Regions from separate parts of the Homo sapiens genome. Here region 1 is linked to region 2. Evidence: promoter capture Hi-C in human tissues and cell types (Jung and others, 2019). All regions are on one chromosome and are shown on one strand. The core of a region is centred on a gene start or on the middle of the fragment in contact, and the rest is flanking DNA. Distances in the headings are between cores, read along the strand shown. Region 1 holds the start of RAPGEF3 (Rap guanine nucleotide exchange factor 3). Region 2 holds the start of SLC38A2 (solute carrier family 38 member 2).

Region 1 (4,094 bases), core at 540-3,039, 1.4 Mb after region 2:
CAAGACCTACCTAGGCAACATAGCGAAACCTGGGTGGACACACGCAGTGGAGACATAACTGAATCTCAAGCTAAGCTACTCTATTTAGTCTGGATGGTTGGGGATAGCTTCTCTGCTGATTTGGATAGTACAGCCATTATCTTGCCTCCCAAATCCCACCATTCTTTCCCCTCCCTGCTCTCTCCTTCATTCTTTCAGGTCCAGAGATGTTTCTCACTAGCAAAGGGCACTTTGGTGATCTCAGATTCTCCAAATGTCTCAGAATCCTTCCCTGAGCCCCCCAAAGGCAGGTACCAAGCAGTGTCCACATGATCACCTCACCCTAAGACCAAAACGCAGAATTAGCACAGTTCAGTAACTCACTAAAGGAGAATGTTGCCACGGTGATGCACCCAGAACTGTAACCAAGCTTACCTCACTCCAACCCATTGACCCGGCCCCCATACCTCCCACCTCCACCTGGAAAGAACACACAAGTACCTAACTCAATGCCGGCTCACTGAGGTGACAGATAAACAACAAATCCCTTTCCCCTTCCCCCCATGCCCAAACAGAGACATTTGGGCAGAACACACACACAGACACACACACGTTGCAGCTGTGTGAGCCACCCACGCACACTGCAGACAAGCTTCCTGACCCAGTGTCCACGGCAGCTGTACCACTGTACACCCCCAGAGCAAGCTGGGCCACCAGCAGCATGCCAAGCCATGATCTAGGCCCCCCTCTAGCTCTGGTACTGGCCCTGGCACCTGGGCAGGTGAAAGGTACTCACCCAGCGCAGCCCCTGGATGCAGCTCGGACGCTGGTGCTCCAGCAGCAGCTGGTAGGAGCAGCTTCGGGGCCGGTGCATCCTTCTCAACACCATGTTGAGTAGTGTCCCCTCCGGCACCACGTCAGGGAGGGCTCCCACCCGCGGTGCTCCCAGAGCTGGGCTATCCTCCACAGCCAGGCCCACCTGCCAGCAGCTCTCACCTGGCCAGCCCACCTGTGACACGGGGAGGAAAGTGGACAGCCATGGGACACGACTGGGGCGGCTGGGCCACAGTACAACTGCCCCAGGCAGAACTACTTCCTTAGAGTCCTCTGGACTGGTCAGGCGGAGGTGCTGCAACCCTGCCAGGAGCTGGGGGGAGGAACAGGAAGACCTTCACTGGGGCCTGCCGGTCTGGCGCACTTAGGGGTCTCCAGCTGGCTCTTGGAAAAGATCAGGCCCTTCTTAGTCCTCTTTGGAATTCTGTCCCATCTCACTGCCCATGCCCCTGCAGGGATCTCCACTACCTCCCAGTATGAAGCTATAGATTCACTAGGTCTCCCAGAAATGCAGCTTCGGCTTAAACCCTTCTCCTCTCCTCCTCAGCCCTGACTAACCCTCCCTCTCCCACCCAAACTCCCCACCGTGTCAGCTTCCTCTCCCGCCCTCTCCTGCTCCTCCTCAACCCTGACCCCACCTTACCCACCTTCATGTTTCTTTTCAAGCTCGCACAGCCGTGCAGGCTCTAGCAAAAGGCTGGGGGGTCCCCAGCGACCCCCATCAGCTTTGATAAGGGGATCCGGAGGGTGCCAGTGGGTAAGTCCAGGTACAGTGAACTGGGCCAGTGCCTAGCTGGACTGGCTGCCAGGGCAGCAGGATGCAGGGCTCGGTGGAGAGGCTCCTCTTGGGTGAGTAGAGGGGTGGGGGCGTGGTGGGGGGACGCCACCCAGCCACCGGCGACAGGGAGCCCCGAGCCTGCGCCTTCGTCTCAGACGAAGGAGCCAGCTGGCACCGGGCGCTGAAGCAAGGCTGCGCTGGCACCGGTCCGGGCGGGAGCTGTCACACCCCCTGCGCTGCCCGCCCCCTTCCCCTCCCCAGGACTGGCGGAGGGGGCGGGGTGGAGGCGCCCTGCCTTACGGTAGAGGAATGCGTAGGGGAAGGGGGCCGGCACTGGCAGGCTTTGGAGTCCGCACCCGGGGGTACCAGAGTGGACATCCGCCTGAGCCCAGAGTATCCCCAGGGGGCAGGAGCGGCCCCGAAGTGTGTGGAGGAGGCCGCAACGGCCGGGGTGTCAGGGATCCGGCGGTGAGTGGCTGCACTGGCCGCCACGTGGCCGGGAGGAGAAATGCAAACAAGGAAACCGGGGAGAGCGGGGAGGGGGTGAGTCACTGCGGCCTCACCCGGGAGGGAAATCCGGGCTGGGGCCGCTTCCCGGCTGGGGGTGTCTGCCTCCTGTTTCGGTTCAGGGTCTCCAGCCGCCCGGGGGAGGGAATAGGCGGCTTTCCCGCGGGGAATCCCGCTGCCTTGCCTCCCACAGTTCCGTTCCCAGACCCACGCCCCACTGCCCCCTGCCCCAGCACACACACACCGGGAGCAGTTGAGGAAACTGAGGCTGGAGAGGAAGGACTGCTCTCCAGAACGGGTAGGGGCCCTAAGAGGAGATTGGGGTTGTGGCAGAGCTTCCAGGGGAGCAGAAGGTGTTCGAGTACCACGCCCCCTACCGCGCGCTCCCTGGTGGCCGGGTAGGTTGAGGCGGAGACCGGGCATTCCAGCGCCCTGCTAGGCAGGCTTGCTACCGAGGCTCCACGCCTCCCTGGGCCTCAGTTTCCACCACTGTGCAAATGGCCCAGCGCGGGCCTCTTCGCCCCACTCCTGAGAGGGTGGAGAGACAGTGGCCGGGGACAGCGACCCGTAATTCAGGACGATAATGAGGGTTTGGAAGGAGGTGAACGCCCCACCCCCAGCTTTTTAGGACTTTTTGCCCCTTCTCTTCCCTTTTCCCTTTGCTGTTGAGCCAGCCCAGACTGGGAAGAAGTATCTCTAAAAAGCCTATACCCCAATTTTGGGATGCCAAGCCCGCATCCTCCACCATGATTATTTTCTTGAAAGTGAGGAGAAGACTGGGAAGAGGTAGCTCTAAGAAGCCTATACTCCCAATTTTGGGATGCCAAGCCCCCATCCTCCACCAATTATTATTTTCTTGAAAGTGGGGAGAGAAATTTTAATTGTGATTAAAATCCCATTTTTAATGTATACATGTATAAAAAATGTTTCCCAGAAGCTTACTAAAATGCAGGCTCCGTCCCCAGCAATTCATATTCAATCCTATTGGCATGAAATGGAAAATCTGTATTTGGAACAAACACCCCAGGTCATCTGCTGTGTCCACACATTAAGAAACGCTGGTGGAGTTTTAAATGCCTCTCCGGGGAAGGAGGAAAGCCTGAGAATGAATCTGACCTCAGACCCAAATCCATTCAACGGAGTTCTGGTAATTTGGAAGAAGGAAGAGCAACCTGGAAACTGACAGGAAAGGATGACAAGTTGGGAGTCACAGGTATGCATGGGGAAGAGTTAGGGGGATGGAGTCATGAGTTTCGGGTTGCTGGGGCCAGTGCCCTGGCCTAGAAGTTCTTGCAGGAAGGCTTCCTGAGACTGGCAGTTGGGTCACAAAGGGGTCCCCTATTTCCTATTCTTGCTGCCCTTACTCTGGGCAGGTGGAAGATGCTGGGGAGTGAGGCAGGACACTTGTATACATTTCAGCAGAGCTACAAAATCTAATCATGTGCGGGCACTCTTTCAAGTGCTTTCCATGTGTTTAATCCCTGCCACGATCCTGTGAGGTATGTACTTCTGTTATCCTCACGTCACAGATGGGGAAACTGAGGCTCAGGGATATTAAGGAAATTGCCAAAGTCACACAGCTAGTAAATGGTGGAGCTGGGGCATGAATCCAGGTTGTCTGTCTCCACGTACTCACCATGGTATACTGCGTATACTCTGTATGTATTCTATTCTTCTAATGTAGACTAGACTGCCTAGGAGAGTCTACTCAAAAAAGGAAAATTGAGGCCGGGTGCGATGGCTCACGCCTGTAATCCCAACACCTTGGGAGGCTGAGGTGGGGGTGAATCATGAGGTCAGGAGTTCAAGACTAGCCTGACCAACATGGTGAAACCCTGTCTCTACTAAAAATACAAAAATTAGCCAGGCGTGGTGGCGTGCGCCTGGAATCCCAGCTACTCAGGAGGCTGAGGCAGGAGAATTCTTTCAACCCGGGAGGCGAAGGTTGCAGTGAGTCAAGATCATGCCACTGAACTCCAGCCTGGGCGACAGAGCG
Region 2 (4,522 bases), core at 345-2,844:
TTTTCAGAGCAGCTTGCTTGGTGGGGTAGGAGTAGTTGAAGTCGCTGTTGGAACTGTAGCTGCTGCTGTCTTCATCCGGGGAAATACTGAATCGTCCCATTTCGGCCTTCTTCATGCTAAGCACTGGGAGGAATCGGGTGCAGCTAGTAGCGCTGGGCTCCTTTTGTCCTTGGCGGTGGGTGCAGCGGCCCGCGAGTCGGCCTGCGAAAGTAGAGGCGGCGCGTCAGGACCGCAGCGCCAGCCCGCCGCGGTCACGTGACGCCGCCCGGAGGCGCAGCGCGGCTGATTCATCCCAGGCCAGGCGAGTGGAAAAGTACCAGCCGCGCGCGAGGGGCGGGGGCGCGCCGAGGGGCGGAAAAGTACAGACGGCGGAGCCGCGGGGAGAACAAAGATGATGCCACCGCTGTGTTGCGGCCGTCGAGGCCCCCTACTCCGGCAGATTTCAGTATTTCACCCTCTCTATTGTCCCTCGTCGGAGTGGAGGGGGCGAGGGGGGGTTCTGTTTTGCTTTTTCCCAGTCGCTCCAAACTTGCACAGGCACTCAGGGCACACATCCAGCCCCGACCCTGGCTCGTGTGCATGCAACCTAGGCGCACGGCTTTCCGTTTCTAGCATTTGGAACAGCAATGCTGCGTAATCTGTCCTTTACTGCCCGGAGTCCCCACACGGAGAAATGCCTCTGCCGCAGACAGCCTTCCCCAGGAGGCGGAAAGGGCCGACACTACTCCTCTCTCGAGGGGGGCGAACGCCCGGGCCCCGGGAGCTGGGGGTTTGTTTACACACGCGCGCCAGTGCCCTCAAGCACACCCGTCCACAGGCAGCTGGCCCGCGAGTGCTACGCCCGCCCAGCCCCTCCTATGTCCGGAAAGAAAACTGATGCAATATCGATCGTCGATTGTCAAATGTTCCCAACTCGTCTTCCCCAATCTTGGCCTCTCCTGTAATACATGCCCAAGCCCACCTCCGCCGCCCCCAGATTCCTGGCTCCCTGGACTTAATTTTTTTTTTTTATTAAATGCAAATCAGTCACAAGACTTGCCGCAGCAGAGCCGCTGGCCGGGCTAGCTCCCCTCCCCCTAATGGGAAGATGCGGCTCCGCACCGTGCAGGCACGCGGCCCCCGCCCAGCGCCCGCTCTCCTACCCACGTCGCGGGCGCGACACCCGCGCGGCGGGCCAGGGTGGAAGGCTGGCCAGCCCAACCGACAACGCCCGCCTCGAAAGGAAACGGACCCCGCGGCCGCCTTCCCGCGCGGCCCCTCCCGGAAGCCCCTCCCCCACTCTCGCCCGGGCCCCGCGCCCTTCCCACAGACGCCCCCCCGCACGCGTTACCTCGGTGGTCTCTATTCTCACGCAGACGTCTTCAGTGGGTTTCTCTCAGTCAAATACAAATCATAAAAAACAAACAAAAAATTTCCCCAAATCCAACAACAGGCAGGAAAAATAATTTTAATAAAAAAGGAAAAGACAAATTGCCGCCCCAATCCTCCGGCGTCCGCCGTGTCAAGGGAAAGGCGCGAGCGTGCGGTAACGCGTGGTCGGGCTGCTGCTAGCAGTACTGGAAAGGCGTTCTAAGGCGGCGGCGTCGCGCGGCTGTGGAGCAGCCCTGCGAGCGGCGGGTTATAGCGGCACCCCGGGGACGCGTCAGTGGGCGGGACCGCGGCCGCCCGGGCGCCTTCTCTTTGTGTATCAACACCACCTGGGCCCCGCCTCCGACCCGCCCAGACCTAGGCCCCGCCTCCCTGCCCCTCCCTCTGCGGCCCGCGCCCGCGGCCCAGCCCCGCCCGCAGGCGCCCCCAAGACTCTCCCGCAAAGCCCAAGCCCACTCTCTCCAGCTTTCTAGATAGTCTGGAAAGACCCCCAGATGCTTCCCCTGCCTATCCTTTTCAGCCAGGGTTGGTGCTCAACACATGCGGTTGTCTTTGAGGAGCCATCTCCTTAAAATTTTCTCCTGTCCGAGTCACCAGCAGTCCTTGCTTTCGGGGGACACATCAAGGCTTTTGGGGGACACCACCCTCCCACCAAACACTTTCTTGATTGTTATTTTTGTGATTTACAGTGAAGTTTTGTCTCACAAACTTGGGCCAAGGCAGCAAGGTTGTCCTGATGGTTTGTTGTTCTTTCTTTTCCACCTAGACCTGCTTTCACTCTTCAAAACTAGCCGGAGGTCGGCGAGCAGCTCCTTTTCGGGATGTGCTTTTTGTACGGCCATGGAAACTGGACTAGCGGAAAGGCTACCTTTTGGCCAGCAAGCCAGGCCCCTTAGAAAGAGGCCCCAGTGGGGAGCCCGGCGCTCCTAAGGCCGTTTGGGAGTCCCCAGTTTTCCACTCGCTGACACGTTGCTTCTCTTATCCCACCACCGCCGCCCCGGGCAAAGGCACTGCCTTGTCTGAATGCGGGTCTGAGGCGCTTTCTGCGGAGCCTGGTCCTTTCCCTTCAATGGTGATGTGTGTGGTCTTGCTGAGCCAGGCAACTAGGGGGACCCTTCGCTGTGGAAAAATTGGTGCTGCGGGAAAGGCAAGACTCACTCCCTTGCAGGAAACAAAGACCCCTTAGGAGAGAGAAATGTTCATGGAATGAATGAATAAACAAGTTTGACCTACTGCTCTCTTCCTTTTGGGGACTTGGGAGAAATTGGGCAGGGCATAGAGGAAAGGGCTGGGTGTGATCGCAGTTTTTGCTTTCAATGTTTTACTGAGGAAATCCGTACAACTGCCTATTTCCGCCGCACGTGAGGCTTCGGGTGCCCTCGCCTGCACCAGTGTTTATGATTGACAAGCGAGGTCCCGATTTCCCCCATCACACTCCTGTGTTCCCTACCCCAAACCTTCTACTCTGTTCAGGCCAGTCTTCCCTACCGCAAACCTTCTACTCTGTTCAGGCCAGTCTTAAATAATAGCCATTCTTGCTTTGGTGTCCAATCTCCTCTCATCCCCTTAAATGCCGCTGTCATGCAAGGCTTAGTCTTCGAGCCACAGGAAAGCGCCCCGCATGCCTTAATCCCTCCGTACTCAGCCCTCTTTTTGCAGGTACTATTTTCTAAAACAATATGGTGACGGACTTTTAAAAATCCGTGCTGTCATGCACTCAAAATCGTTCCAGACTATTTGTAGTATCATCTGCCCAAAGATTGTGAACTCCCCAAGGGCAGGTTTGGAATTTGACACACAATTAGGGCTGAAAAAACTATCTTCCTTCCACATACATTCCCCAATAAAATCAATCAACTCTTCTTGTCACAACAATCTTGGTAGTGGTAGGTTAGAGAGGAGTCCCAGGAAGTTTCTTTATATTAGGTTTCAACTGATAACAATCAAAAGGTCTTAAACCACTTTTTCATTCCAGATGAATCTCTGGTCGTTTCCTCTGCCCAGTTAGAGGTGCTAAGGAGGCCCTCAGGGTTGGTAGTTATGGGTGGCAAGTGGCACTATAAGTAAATCTCATGTCTTTTGGACTTTTTGGTGGTTTGTATTGCAACACATATTTAGGAGAAGCACAATACCTGTACAGCTGAGGGCAAAGTGGAGGGCAGGGGCGGGGGGGGGAGCTGCAATATTGATCTGGTCTCTGTATGATCAGAACTTGAACAGTAAATGACAAAAAAAGAAGGGTGGAGGGGTGAAACTTCCATGTTTTTATTGCCAGTTTGATTGGTCTTTTCGAGGGCCAAACTGAGGCATGCCTGCTAACTCCATCAGACTTCCAACTGAGGCCTGATGTGCTCTGAGCAATTGCTGTTATGCTTTGGGCTTGAATGCATTGGACACAGTGTCCTCATTCAATTTCTGGGAAACGATATTGCCAAATACCTATTGGTCAGTGCGCTATAATTTTGTTTGATTTCTAAGCTAATGTTCTAGAAGAGCAGCATTTTTTAAACTTTCAGAATGGGACCAAGTGGTGGATAGTGATGAATTCAGTGGATTAGTACTAGCTTTCTATTTTCTTCAATGCAGTAGAATAGAATAATTTTTTTTAAAAAATCAGTATGCCATATGTACTATTATTCTGTAAATCTTTTATCTTGATTATGTGTATATATATGTGTGTATATATGTATACATATGTATACATATATGTGATTATGTGTGTCTGTATATATATGTGTGTGTGTATTATGAGTTGTGATGTAAAACAGGGGTCCCCAACCCCTGGGCAGCAGACTGGTACCAGTCTGAAGCCTGTTAGGAACTGGGCTGCACAGCAGGAGGTGAGTGGCAGTTCAGCCAGCATTTGGCCTGATCAGTGGTGGCATTAGATTCTCATAGGGGCACGAACCCTATTGTGAACTGCACATGTGAGGGATCTAGGTTGCATACTTCTTATGAGAATCTAACTAATGCCTGACAATCTGAGGTAGGACAGTTTCATCCTGAAACCATCTCCCCCAATTTTTTTGTGGAAAAATTGTCTTCCACAAGACTGGTCCCTGGTGCCAAAAGGTTGGGGACTGCTGATGTAAAATGTATGTCTTGCTGTGGTTTGGGGGGGGGTCAAAGAATTTTGAAAGCTACTGAAATTGAA

Evidence for each region. Contacts are between HindIII fragments. The study calls those that stand out against the background at their distance.
Region 1: a contact is called between the fragment with the promoter of RAPGEF3 here and the fragment with the promoter of SLC38A2 in region 2, in 1 of the 25 tissues and cell types used here (hippocampus).

The regions. Positions count from the first base shown.
Region 1 is chr12:47,757,091-47,761,184 of GRCh38, forward strand. It overlaps RAPGEF3 (Rap guanine nucleotide exchange factor 3), which reads right to left and starts at 1,790. Exons shown (of 28, transcript NM_001098531.4): 1 at 1,461-1,790; 2 at 776-988. The coding sequence starts at 1,466. It also overlaps a transcript of SLC48A1 not described here. RefSeq lists enhancers at 1,001-1,669, 1,670-2,338 and a silencer at 1,610-1,959. The HindIII fragment of the contact is 24,154 bases long and covers 1-1,833 here.
Region 2 is chr12:46,371,179-46,375,700 of GRCh38, forward strand. SLC38A2 (solute carrier family 38 member 2) reads right to left here and starts at 1,595. Exons shown (of 16, transcript NM_018976.5): 1 at 1,331-1,595; 2 at 1-201. The coding sequence starts at 115. It overlaps SLC38A2-AS1 (SLC38A2 antisense RNA 1), which reads left to right and starts at 1,605. Exons shown (of 2, transcript NR_187299.1): 1 at 1,605-1,684; 2 at 2,135-2,600. RefSeq lists enhancers at 525-674, 755-1,084, 774-1,477, 1,335-1,414, 2,095-2,154 and silencers at 1,105-1,304, 1,505-1,844. The HindIII fragment of the contact is 23,415 bases long and covers 1-4,522 here.